2 separate regions of the Homo sapiens genome follow, and region 2 is linked to region 1. The links are contacts of gene promoters, found by promoter capture Hi-C in human tissues and cell types (Jung and others, 2019). All regions are on one chromosome and are shown on one strand. Each heading gives the region's core, a stretch centred on a gene start or on the middle of the fragment in contact. The rest is flanking DNA. Distances are from core to core; before and after follow the strand shown. Region 1 holds the start of ZNF33A (zinc finger protein 33A). Region 2 overlaps ZNF33A (zinc finger protein 33A).

Region 1 (5,319 bases), core at 1,987-4,486:
ATTGTGAGGGGGACAAGACGGCAGCTTCAGGAGTGCTGGCAATGTTTGTTTTGACCTGTGTATTCATTATTTGTGCCACGGATTTGTAATAATTCATTAAGTTCTATATTTAAAATTTAGGGGGTTGTGTATCTATCTGCTACACATGTAGAAATAAGATTCATTAAAAATTAAAATACACAATCCTAGCACTTTGGGAGGCCAAGGTGGGGGATCACGAGGTCAGGAGACTGAGACCAGCCTGGCCAACATGGTGAAACCCCGTCTCTACTAAAAATACAAAAATTAGCTGGGTATGGTGGTGCGTGCCTATAATCCCAGCTACTCGGGAGGTTGAGGCAGGAGAATCACTTTAACCAAGGAGTCGAGGCAGGAGAATCACTTGAACCAGGGAGTCGGAGGTTGCAGTGAGCCAAGATCACACCACTGTGCTACAGCCTGGTGACAGAGCAAGACTCTGTATCAAAAAAAATAATAATAATAAAATACATTTTAATTTACCGGCTGGGTGCAGTGGCTCACGCCTGTAATCCCAGCACTTTGGGAGGCTGAGGAGAGCAGATCACGAGGTCAAGATATCAAGACCATCCTGGCCAACACGGTAAAACCCCGTCTCTACTAAAAATACAAAAATTAGCCAGGTGTGGTGGCGCATGCCTGTAGTCCCAGCTACTCGGGAGGCTGAGGCAAGAGAATCGCTTGAACCCGGGAGGCAGAAGTTTCAGTGAGCCAAGATCGCGCCACTGTACTCCAGAATGGCAAGAGAGCAAGATTCCGTCTCAAAAAAATAAAAAAATTAAAATTAAAATACATTTTAATTTACTGATCAAACACTACATCCAAAAGAAAACTGGAACCTGTGTGAAATAAAAATTAAAAAAGCAGTTTGACTCAATAGGCTGCACTCATTTCAGGGTTATCACTGGAAGCTTATTCACTATGGGTCCCTATGTTATGACCAAAAAAGGTATCTGCCAGGAAGTCTTTGTGCCTTCAGAGGAGTCAGTCTGTCTGTATCCAGTGTCTTCCTTTCTGCCATGGTTGTTGGAAACGTAAGAAACATACGAAGCTCAACTTATTGACTCTAACTTGGCCCTGCTATTGATCTGTTACTTTATATTTTCTGGGAAGTTCAATTTTTATCTATTACTAACTTCTCATCTTAACATATTGACTCTTGGCCAGACACGGTGCCTCACGCTTGTAATCCCAGCACTTTGGGAGACCAAGGCGGGCGGATTGACTGAGCTCAGGAGTTTGCGACCAGCCTAGGCAACACGGTGAAACCCTGTCTCTATTAAAACGCAAAAAATTAGCCAGGCGTGGCAGCATGCGCCTGCAGTCCCAGCTACTCGGGGGGCTGAGGCAGGAGAATTGCTTGAACCCGGGAGGCAGAGGTTGCAGTGAACCGAGATGGGGACATTGTACTCCAGCCTGGGTGACAGAGTGAGACTCCGTCTCACAAAAAAAAAAAAAAAAAAAAAACAAACACCATATCGACTCTTACAAATCTCACAAAGTCCACTGCAAAATAAAGTAGGGAATTAATAAACAACTTACCTTGTTCATTTTGTTCTGTTCTTGGAAAGACGGAGACAACTCTGAAGATACAGCTGAGTTAGAAAAAGAGGAATGGGGTCATGAAAGATTTGGCCTGCCTGGCAACTCCTGGATTCTTCCGCCCTAAGAAGCCATACACACCCACTAGGTAAAATGCTTCCTCTGGGAGAGTATCAATGTCCTCTGACACTTTGGAATAGGGGGTAGAAATGGTGGAAGAACACTTCGGAATAGGCGGTAGAAATGGTGAAAGAATAACTCCAACATAATTATGTAGCTCTTGGGCACAAGATTTTTTACCGGGTGAAAGTAAATATTTGCTTCCTAAGGATTTCAATCTCCCTCGGTGTTCACAAAAAAAAGTATAATGACAATATTGGCCAAACAAGTTAACAATATATTTAATGAAGGAACATTAACACTAAAACCATTGTAAAAAATAGGACTAAGCTATCTATTTTCCCAGTAATGTTACTTAACCTCTGGTGAGTGACTCCACAGAAAGCCATAAGCGGCAGTGCTTCAAAGAAAAAATCAGTTTTAATTTCTTCATCTAACTTTGTTGCTATTTCTCAAAGGGATATTTTAAACTTGCTTTGATGTGTGTGGAAAAGTAGACAGTACTGGCTTAGGGGTCAGGAGATGTGACTTAGTCTTCCCTACTAACTGTGATCCTGAACAAGTCAGTGACCTTAACAAACAAAAAAACAAAAAAAATCTTTTTCTTCTAACAAATGAGGCAAAATTAGGTAATTCTTTGTTTTTGTTTTTTTTTGAGACGGAGTTTCGCTCTTGTTGCCCAGTCTGGAGTGCAATAGTGCGATCTTGGCTACCTGTAACCTCCGCCTCCCGGGTTCAAGCAATTTTCCGCCTCAGTAGCTGGGATTACAGGCATGCGCCACCACGCCCGGCTACTTTTCGTATTTTTAGTAGAGACGGGGTTTCACCATGTTGGTCAGGCTGGTCTCGAATTTCTGACCTCAGGTGATCCACCCGCCTCGGCCTCCCAAAGTGCTGGGATTACAGGCGAGAGCCACCGCGCCAGGCCAAAATTAGGTAATTCTTGAAGATCTTTCCTGAGTGCAAGATCAAGTCAGGACAGAGGAACAGCAAATACCAAGATGCAGTGATGGACCTGACTGGAGGTCAGTTCGGAACCTAAAGAGGATGAATGCAATACGTGCAACCGAGTCTGCCGGTCTGGCGGGCGACTGCACCCGCCTTTCCCCGCCCACGTACCGCGGCGCCCTAGCACACGCGCACAGGCTAGACAAGAGAACTGCCCCTCCCGCAAGGCTCAGCGCGCGGACTGCGCAAGCGCACATGCCCTCCTCCGCGGCCCCCACAAATGGGGCGACACACGCTGCGTACCCTGCTCCGTACAGAGGCCGCGCCTTTGAGGAACCGGCCTAGCGTCGTGGCCCACACGCTGCAGCCCCGCCGTCCCCGCCTTCCCCTATGAGGTCCCCGGGCCTCCTCCCCACCACTTGGTACCGGCCCCCTGCCGCCCGCCCCAGGAGTCGCGCGGGGCTCCCTCTCTCTCCCTGCCCAACCCACTGGGGCTTACCCCACTCCCTCGTCGGGTTGCATTCGCCATAGAAAAGCGCGTAGACCCTTGAAATCCCGGGACCGCCTCCCACGCAAAACCTGAGAAAAACAAAAGGAAAGGCGGAAACGCAGACGTAGCCGGCGGACGAGGCATGCGCAGAGCCCACGCGCACAGCTTGATGCTGTTGGCGCCCTACCTGGAAACTACCTTTCCCGTGAGGCCGGGCGAGCAGCCCTTCGGATTGGTAGAGAAGTGCCCCGCTAGGCAGTGGGCAGATGCGGTCTGAGTTGGTGCTGGAACTGCCTGCAGCCCTGGCTTTCCCCGGGGCACTCCAAAGGGATATACTGCGGGGGAGGTCTGTGGGCAGTTTAGACGCAGACGCTCAAGGAAAGGACCGCTGCGTGTCATTTTCCGTTTAAATGTTAGGAAATAGATCTCGTCCATACAGTTTAAAAGACTTTCATGCTATCAGCGGTTCTTTGGGAGCGGGGGAAAAAAGGGGAAGGTGCGGCCGGAAAGCTACTTCATCAAAATGGTTAAAGCAATAAACGGAAATTGTAGCTCAGTAAGGAACTAGACATAATCTGAAAGAAGAAAATAAATGTCACGTATGATTTCCTCTGTGACATTAAAATTGCTTGACTAAATGGAAATACTTTTAGTCTATCTGTACCTTTCTTAGGAAGACAAAATTCCTAAAAGAATATCAACAAATTTTTGTTATGTATTTTTTCTCTTTGATCTTTAGTGTATTCTGTACTTCACAAAAGCATTCTCAACTTTATCTAGAATAAGTAAAAACCCAAATGAACAGCCAGTATACATTTTAAAAAGCAGGAAAAAAATGCCTAAGGAATATCTGTATCTATCTACATCTATCTATATAATATTGCTCTATTCAAAGTAGTTTGGCACCTGCTCCATGGAAATAAGACAGCTTAAGAGTATTCTTTAATGTGTAGTAGATACAGCATTTCAAAACAGTGAGGGAAAGAATGGAGTATTCCAAAGAGCATGTCATTCCGAGCAATTTGGAATGTAGAGATATACATAGATCACACATGATAAAATCTCACATGTATACAATACTTAAACATTTAAACCACTAAAAGAGTAAAAATTTTTGAAAATTGACAAGTGGACCAGGCACAGTGGCCCACACCTGTAACCCCAGCACTTTGGGAGGCGGAGGCAGGAGGACCACTTGATCCTTGGAGTTCAAGACCAGCCTGGGCACTATAGTGGGACCCCCATCTCTACAAAAAACTAAAAATAACAATTAGCCTGGCATGTAGGCAGGCACCTGTGATCCCAGCTACTCAGGAGGCTGAGGTTGGAGGATCACTTGAGCCCCGGGCTGCAGTAAGCCATCATGGCACCACTGCACTCCAGCATGGGTGACAAAGTGAGACCTTGTCTCAAAAAAAACAACAAGGGATGTGATGCCAAAGACAGAAACTATAAATTTAATATCAGTCACATTTTATAATAGAGAAAAATAAGCAACTCCATTCCAGCAAAACTTTTTAAGTCCATTATGAGAATTGAAAGTAATGCAAATATGGCCAGGCGTGGTGGCTCACGCCTGTAATCCCAGCATTTTGGGAGGCTGAGGCGGGTAGATCATGAGGTCAAGAGATCGAGACTATCCTGCCCAACATGGTGAAACCCCTTCTGTACTAAAAATACAAAAATTAGGTGGGGCGTTGTGGTGCACACCTGTAGTCTCAGCTACTCAGGAGGCTGAGGCAGGAGAATCGTTTGAACCCAGGATGGGGAGGTTGCAGTGAGCCAAGATTGCGCTACTGCACTCCAACCTGGTGACAGAGCGACACTGCGTCTCAAAAAAAAAAAAAAAGAAAGAAATGCAAATATTTGAGTAAAAATACGTGAAACATTTATTGAAATTTACATTTTTTAATTTATGCTTTATATACTGAAAAGTTCTTTATTTGATGCATAATTTTATGAGTTTTGACAATGCATAGATTTGTGTAACCACCACTACAAGCAAGACACAAAATTGTTTCATCTCTGTCAATAAAATTCCTCCATGCTACCTTTTTAAAGTCAGATTCTCTCACCACTCTTAGCCTCTTGCAACCGCTATCTATTCTTTGGGCCTATATGTTTGCCTTTTTTAGGATATTATATAAATGGAATCACACAGTATGTAGTTGTTGAATCTGGTATCTCTTAACACAATGCAA
Region 2 (4,973 bases), core at 723-3,222, 47 kb before region 1:
AGCAAAAAGTATAGAGAATTCTCATATAACCCTTTCCCCTCCCATCTTCCACAGGCTCCCCAATCATTAACATCTTGCATCATTATGGTTCATTTGTTACAATTAATGAGCCAACAGTGATACATTATTATTAACTGAAGTCCAGAGTTGACATTAGGGTTTACTCTGTGTTTTCCGTTCACTGTTTTCCATTCTCTGCGTTTTGACAAATTACAGTACCCTAGAGAGTACTTTCACTGCCTTAAAAATCACCTCTCTACCTGCCATCCCTCCTTTCCCCTCAACTCTCAGCAACCACTGGTCCTTTCACTGGCTCAATAGTTTTGCCTCTCCCAAAATGTCATATAATTGCAATCATACAAAATAGAAAGCCTTTTCAGATTGGTTTTCACTTAACAATAAGCATTTAGGGTTTCTCCGTGTCTTTTAATGACTTGATGTCCAATTCCTTTTTATCATCTACCTGAGGACTGTATCCTGCAATCCTGCTGTAATTGCTTATTAATGTCAGCAGGGTTTTTGTTATTTAGAATTCTCTACAAAGACAATCATGTTACTTGTGAACAAAGTTGTATTTCATCCTTTCAAATCTATGTGCATTTTATTTCTTTTTTTTTTAACACTGCATTATATAGCACTTCCAGTACAATGCTGAAAAGCAGTGGTGTGGTGTTCCTTGCCATGTTCCTGATCTTAGTAGGAAAGTGTCTAGTTGGAAACATCAAGGATAATGTTAGCTGTAGGGTTTTTTGTAGTATGTTCTTTACCAACTTGAGTAAGTTCTCCTGTATTCCTTCTGTGTTGAGAGGTTTTAACATGAATGGATATTGGATTTTGTCAAATGCTTTTTCTGTACCTATTGATATGATCGTATTTCATCTTTGAGCTGCTAATGCATGCAATGGATTACACTGAATATCAAATGTTGAACAAGCCTTGCATTCCTGATTTGCTAATATTTTGAGGATTTCTGCATCTGTGTTCAATGGAAATATTGATCTGTAGTTTTCCTTTCTTGTAATATCTTTGCCTGGTTTTGCTATTAGGGTAATACTGGCCTCACAAAATGAGTTGGGAAGTGTTATCTCTGCTTTTATTTTCTGAAAGAGATGGTAGAGACTTGGTATCATTTCTACCTTAAGTATCTCAAAAACACATCAGTGAACCCAGCTGGTCCTGGCACTTTGTTTTGGAAAGTTTCATTATTATTTTTTGAGATGCAGTCTCATTCTGTCACCCAGGCTGCAGTACAGTGGCACAATCTCAGCTCACTGCAACATCCACCTCCCAGGTTCAAGTGATTCTTCTGCCTCAGCCTCCTGAGTAGCTTCGACTACACACGCATGCCACCATGCCCAGCTAATTTTTTGTATTTTTAGTAGATAGGGGGTTTCACCATGTTGACCAGGCTGGTCTCGAACTCCTGACCTTGTGATCCACCCGCCTCAGCCTCCCAAAGTGAAGTGCTGGGATTACAGGCATGAACCACTGTACCTGGCCTTGGAAGGTTATTAATTACTGCTTTGGTTTATTTAATAGATACATATGCCTATTGAGGTCTATCTTGTGTGAGCTTTGAGAGAATGCGTCTTGCAAGGAATTGGTCCATTTTAGCTAAGTTATCAAATTTATGGACAGAGTTGTCCATGTTTCTTTCTAATCCTTTTGGTGACCATAGGATTAGCTGTGATGGCCTCTTTCATTTTTGGTATTAGCAATATTTGTCTTCTGTTTGTTCTTAAGCTAGCTAGAGGTTTATCAATTTTACTGACCTTTTCAAGGAACCAGTTTTGGGTTTTATCGATTTTCTCTTTTCAATTTCAATGATTTTTACTCTAATGTTTTTTCAGGTTACTTTGGATTTAATTTGCTCTTCTTTTTCTAGTTTCCTAAAGTGGAAGCTTAGATTACTTGTGTAATCTAGGATCACTAGACTGTATAATCTTAGATTATTTGTATGATCTGATCATGTAATATAGTGTACAATCTTCACACTATCAATAAAAGCCCCACACCAGCTTGATTCTGGTTCTGCTCCAGCCTCAACCCTCCTCTTCATATTCTCAAAAGTCTGAGGGCCCAGATCCCTGTCTGGGGACAATGAGCCTTGAAATGACAGTCCAACAGCCCTGGGCAGCCCTGGGCTGTATGTGTGGGCCTTTCCAGGGCCCTGTCTTGGAGAGCAGCTGCTTAAAGAAAATTTGGACTACCACTTATGCTGAAGGCTGGAATGTTCACATATGTACCCTAGGCACTTCATGGCATGGCATGAGCCACAGGTAGGAAGAGAAAGGGAGTAACATGGAGGCGAGCCTAGATCTTCACATGTACAGGATAGATTTTTTTTAGATAATTTGTTATTTTGATTTATACCTTTTAAATGGATAAACATTAGCTCTGTGGGTCTCCTTTTAAATTGTTTCAGGACATCACAAACATCTGGGATGGGCCTGATAATGTAACCACTACTAAACTAGGATACCTACTTCCTATTCACAATTACGTTAAATTCCATTATGCATATGAAACACACGATTTATATCACATACCACTTATACATATATAAGTCTTTTGAACTTCAGGGATAATTCGCAGATGTGCTTAATGCTATTGCCCTGATTATTCAATTTATCTGTGCTTTAAAAAAACTTCATAGTCAAGTGGATGCAAGGGATAGGGTTGCAGAAAGCGTGTGGTTATTAATACAAAAAGGGAACTACTTGAGGCTAAATCCTTTGTAATCCTGATACAGTACAGATCTCAGATTCCTTTTCAGTTCTGTAAACTAATCGTGTTGATGGTTACTCAAATGTAAAAGTCGTAAAAGTTTGATATAACCACACACACACACATACACGTACACACACACACAGAGTGCATGCAAACCATAGTAAAATCTGACTAAGTCTCTATCTACCAGCAAGGTAACATCGATTTCTTGGACTTGACCATATACTATGATTATACATTATCCTTAGAGGAAGTTTGGTGAAGTGTACATGGGAATTCTCTCTACTCATTAAACTTCTTGTGAGGTTATTTTAATTATTACCTTTGTTTAAGTTCTTAAAGCTTTACATTCCACAATATACATCTATAAATTATTGTTAGGTGCCCTAAAAACTATTATGGCATCAAACTCAAAACATAACTTGTCGTATTTTATTTCTAAGCAAAATTTTCACTTTAGATTTCTTAAATTGACAATTTTCTCCTCAGTGTAAATTCTAACATAACCTTATTTGCATTTTTGCCAAAAACTTTCACAAATTCAAAAAAAATCTGTAAGGTGTTATGCCCGTATTAACCATCTGATATTACATAGAATATCACTTCCTAACAAAAGCTGTCCTATAATTGTTGTAGTCTATGGGTTTATCCCCTACTATTACTTTGGAGTAACATAAGGTGAGTTTGTGGATAGTTACTGAACATTCAGGATGTCATCAGGGCTTTCTCCACAGTGTGAATACTCTGAGGCATTATGGAGGCTGACTTGTGGCTGGAAATTTCTAATATCCATTTCATTCATAAGGTTTTCTCCTATATGTCTTCTCTGATGTACAATGAGATTTGACTTTTGAGAGAAAGTTTTCCTGCATGTGTTACATTCATAGGGCTTTTCCCCTGTATGTGATCTCTGATGTTGAGCAAGTTCCGATTTACGGTAAAAGATTTTTCCACATTCATTACATTGACAAGATTTCTCTCCTGTGTGAGCCCTGTGATGTACTGTGAGTGATGATTTGTGCCTGAAGAATTTCCCACATTCATTGCATTCATAGGGTTTCTCCCCCGTGTGCTTTCTCTCATGGAAAATAAGTCCTGATTTTACACAGAAAGATTTTCCACATTCATTACATTTATAGGGCTTTTCTTGTGTATGGGTTCTCTGATGTACAATTAGAGCTGACTTATGGCAGAAAGCTTTTCCACACTCATTACATTTATAGGGTTTCTCCCCTATGTGAATTCTCTGATGCTGAGTGAGTTGTGACTTCTGGTAGAAGGCTTTTCCACATTCATTACATTCATAGGGTTTCTCCCCTGTATGTGTTCTATTATGTTTAGTTAGGTATGATTTATTGTAAAAGATTTTTCCACATTCATGACATTCGTAGGGTTTCTCCCCTGTGTGTGTTCTATAATGTTGAGAGAGGGTTGACTTATGGCTAAAGAATTTCCCACATTCGGGACATGCAAAGGGTTTCTGCCCTGTGTGTGTTCTCTGATGTACTGTGAGGTCTGACTTCAAGCAGAAGGTTTTCCCACATTCATAACATTCATAAGGTTTCCACCCTGTATGAATTATCTGATGCCTGGTGAGTAATGACTTGTGGTAGAAAGTTTTCCCACATGCATTACATTCATAAGATTTATCTCCTATGTGAATTCTCTGATGCTGTGTAAGATTTGACTTTTCACTAAAGGATTTCCCACACTCAAGACATTCAAAAGGTTTCTCACCTGTGTGAGTTCTCTGGTGTACTTTAAGGTGCGAAGTCACACGGAAGGATTTTCCACATTCATAACATTCATAGGGTTTCAGCCCTGTGTGTGTTCTCTGATGTTTAGTGAGGTCAGATTTCTGGCAAAAAGTTTTCCCACACGCATTACATTGATAGGGTTTCTCCCCTGTATGTGTTCTCTGGTGTAATGTGAGGGCTGACTTATGGCTAAAGGCTTTCCCACATTCATTGCATTCAAAAGGTTTCTCCCCTGTGTGTGATCTTTGATGTTTAGTGAGGTTTGACTTATCCCAGAAAGCTTTTTCACATTCATTACATTGAAAGGGTTTCTGTCCTGTGTGCACCCTCTGATGTCGAGTGAGATGTGACTTCTCCCAGAAAGCTTTCCCACATTCATTACATTCAAAGTGTTTCTCTCCTTTATCACCTTTCTGAAGGTGTGACAGACACAATTTCCTCCTGAAATTATTCCCACTTTCACCACAATCATAGTGTTTCATAGAT

The links. The method cuts DNA at HindIII sites, captures the fragments that hold promoters and counts their contacts. A contact is called where the count stands out against the background at its distance.
Region 2: a fragment that was not itself captured here is called in contact with the fragment with the promoter of ZNF33A in region 1 in 3 of the 25 tissues and cell types used here (dorsolateral prefrontal cortex, mesendoderm cells and thymus).

What each region holds. Positions count from the first base shown.
Region 1 is chr10:38,008,592-38,013,910 of GRCh38, reverse strand. It overlaps ZNF33A (zinc finger protein 33A), which reads right to left and starts at 3,236. Exons shown (of 5, transcript NM_006954.2): 1 at 3,128-3,236; 2 at 1,561-1,613. The coding sequence starts at 1,569. RefSeq lists an enhancer at 2,534-2,713. The HindIII fragment of the contact is 9,281 bases long and covers 1-5,319 here.
Region 2 is chr10:38,055,012-38,059,984 of GRCh38, reverse strand. It overlaps ZNF33A (zinc finger protein 33A), which reads right to left. Exons shown (of 5, transcript NM_006954.2): 5 at 1-4,973. The coding sequence ends at 3,425. Among named protein-coding and RNA genes, the nearest start is that of ZNF37A, 37 kb to the left of the region's middle. The HindIII fragment of the contact is 5,674 bases long and covers 1-4,809 here.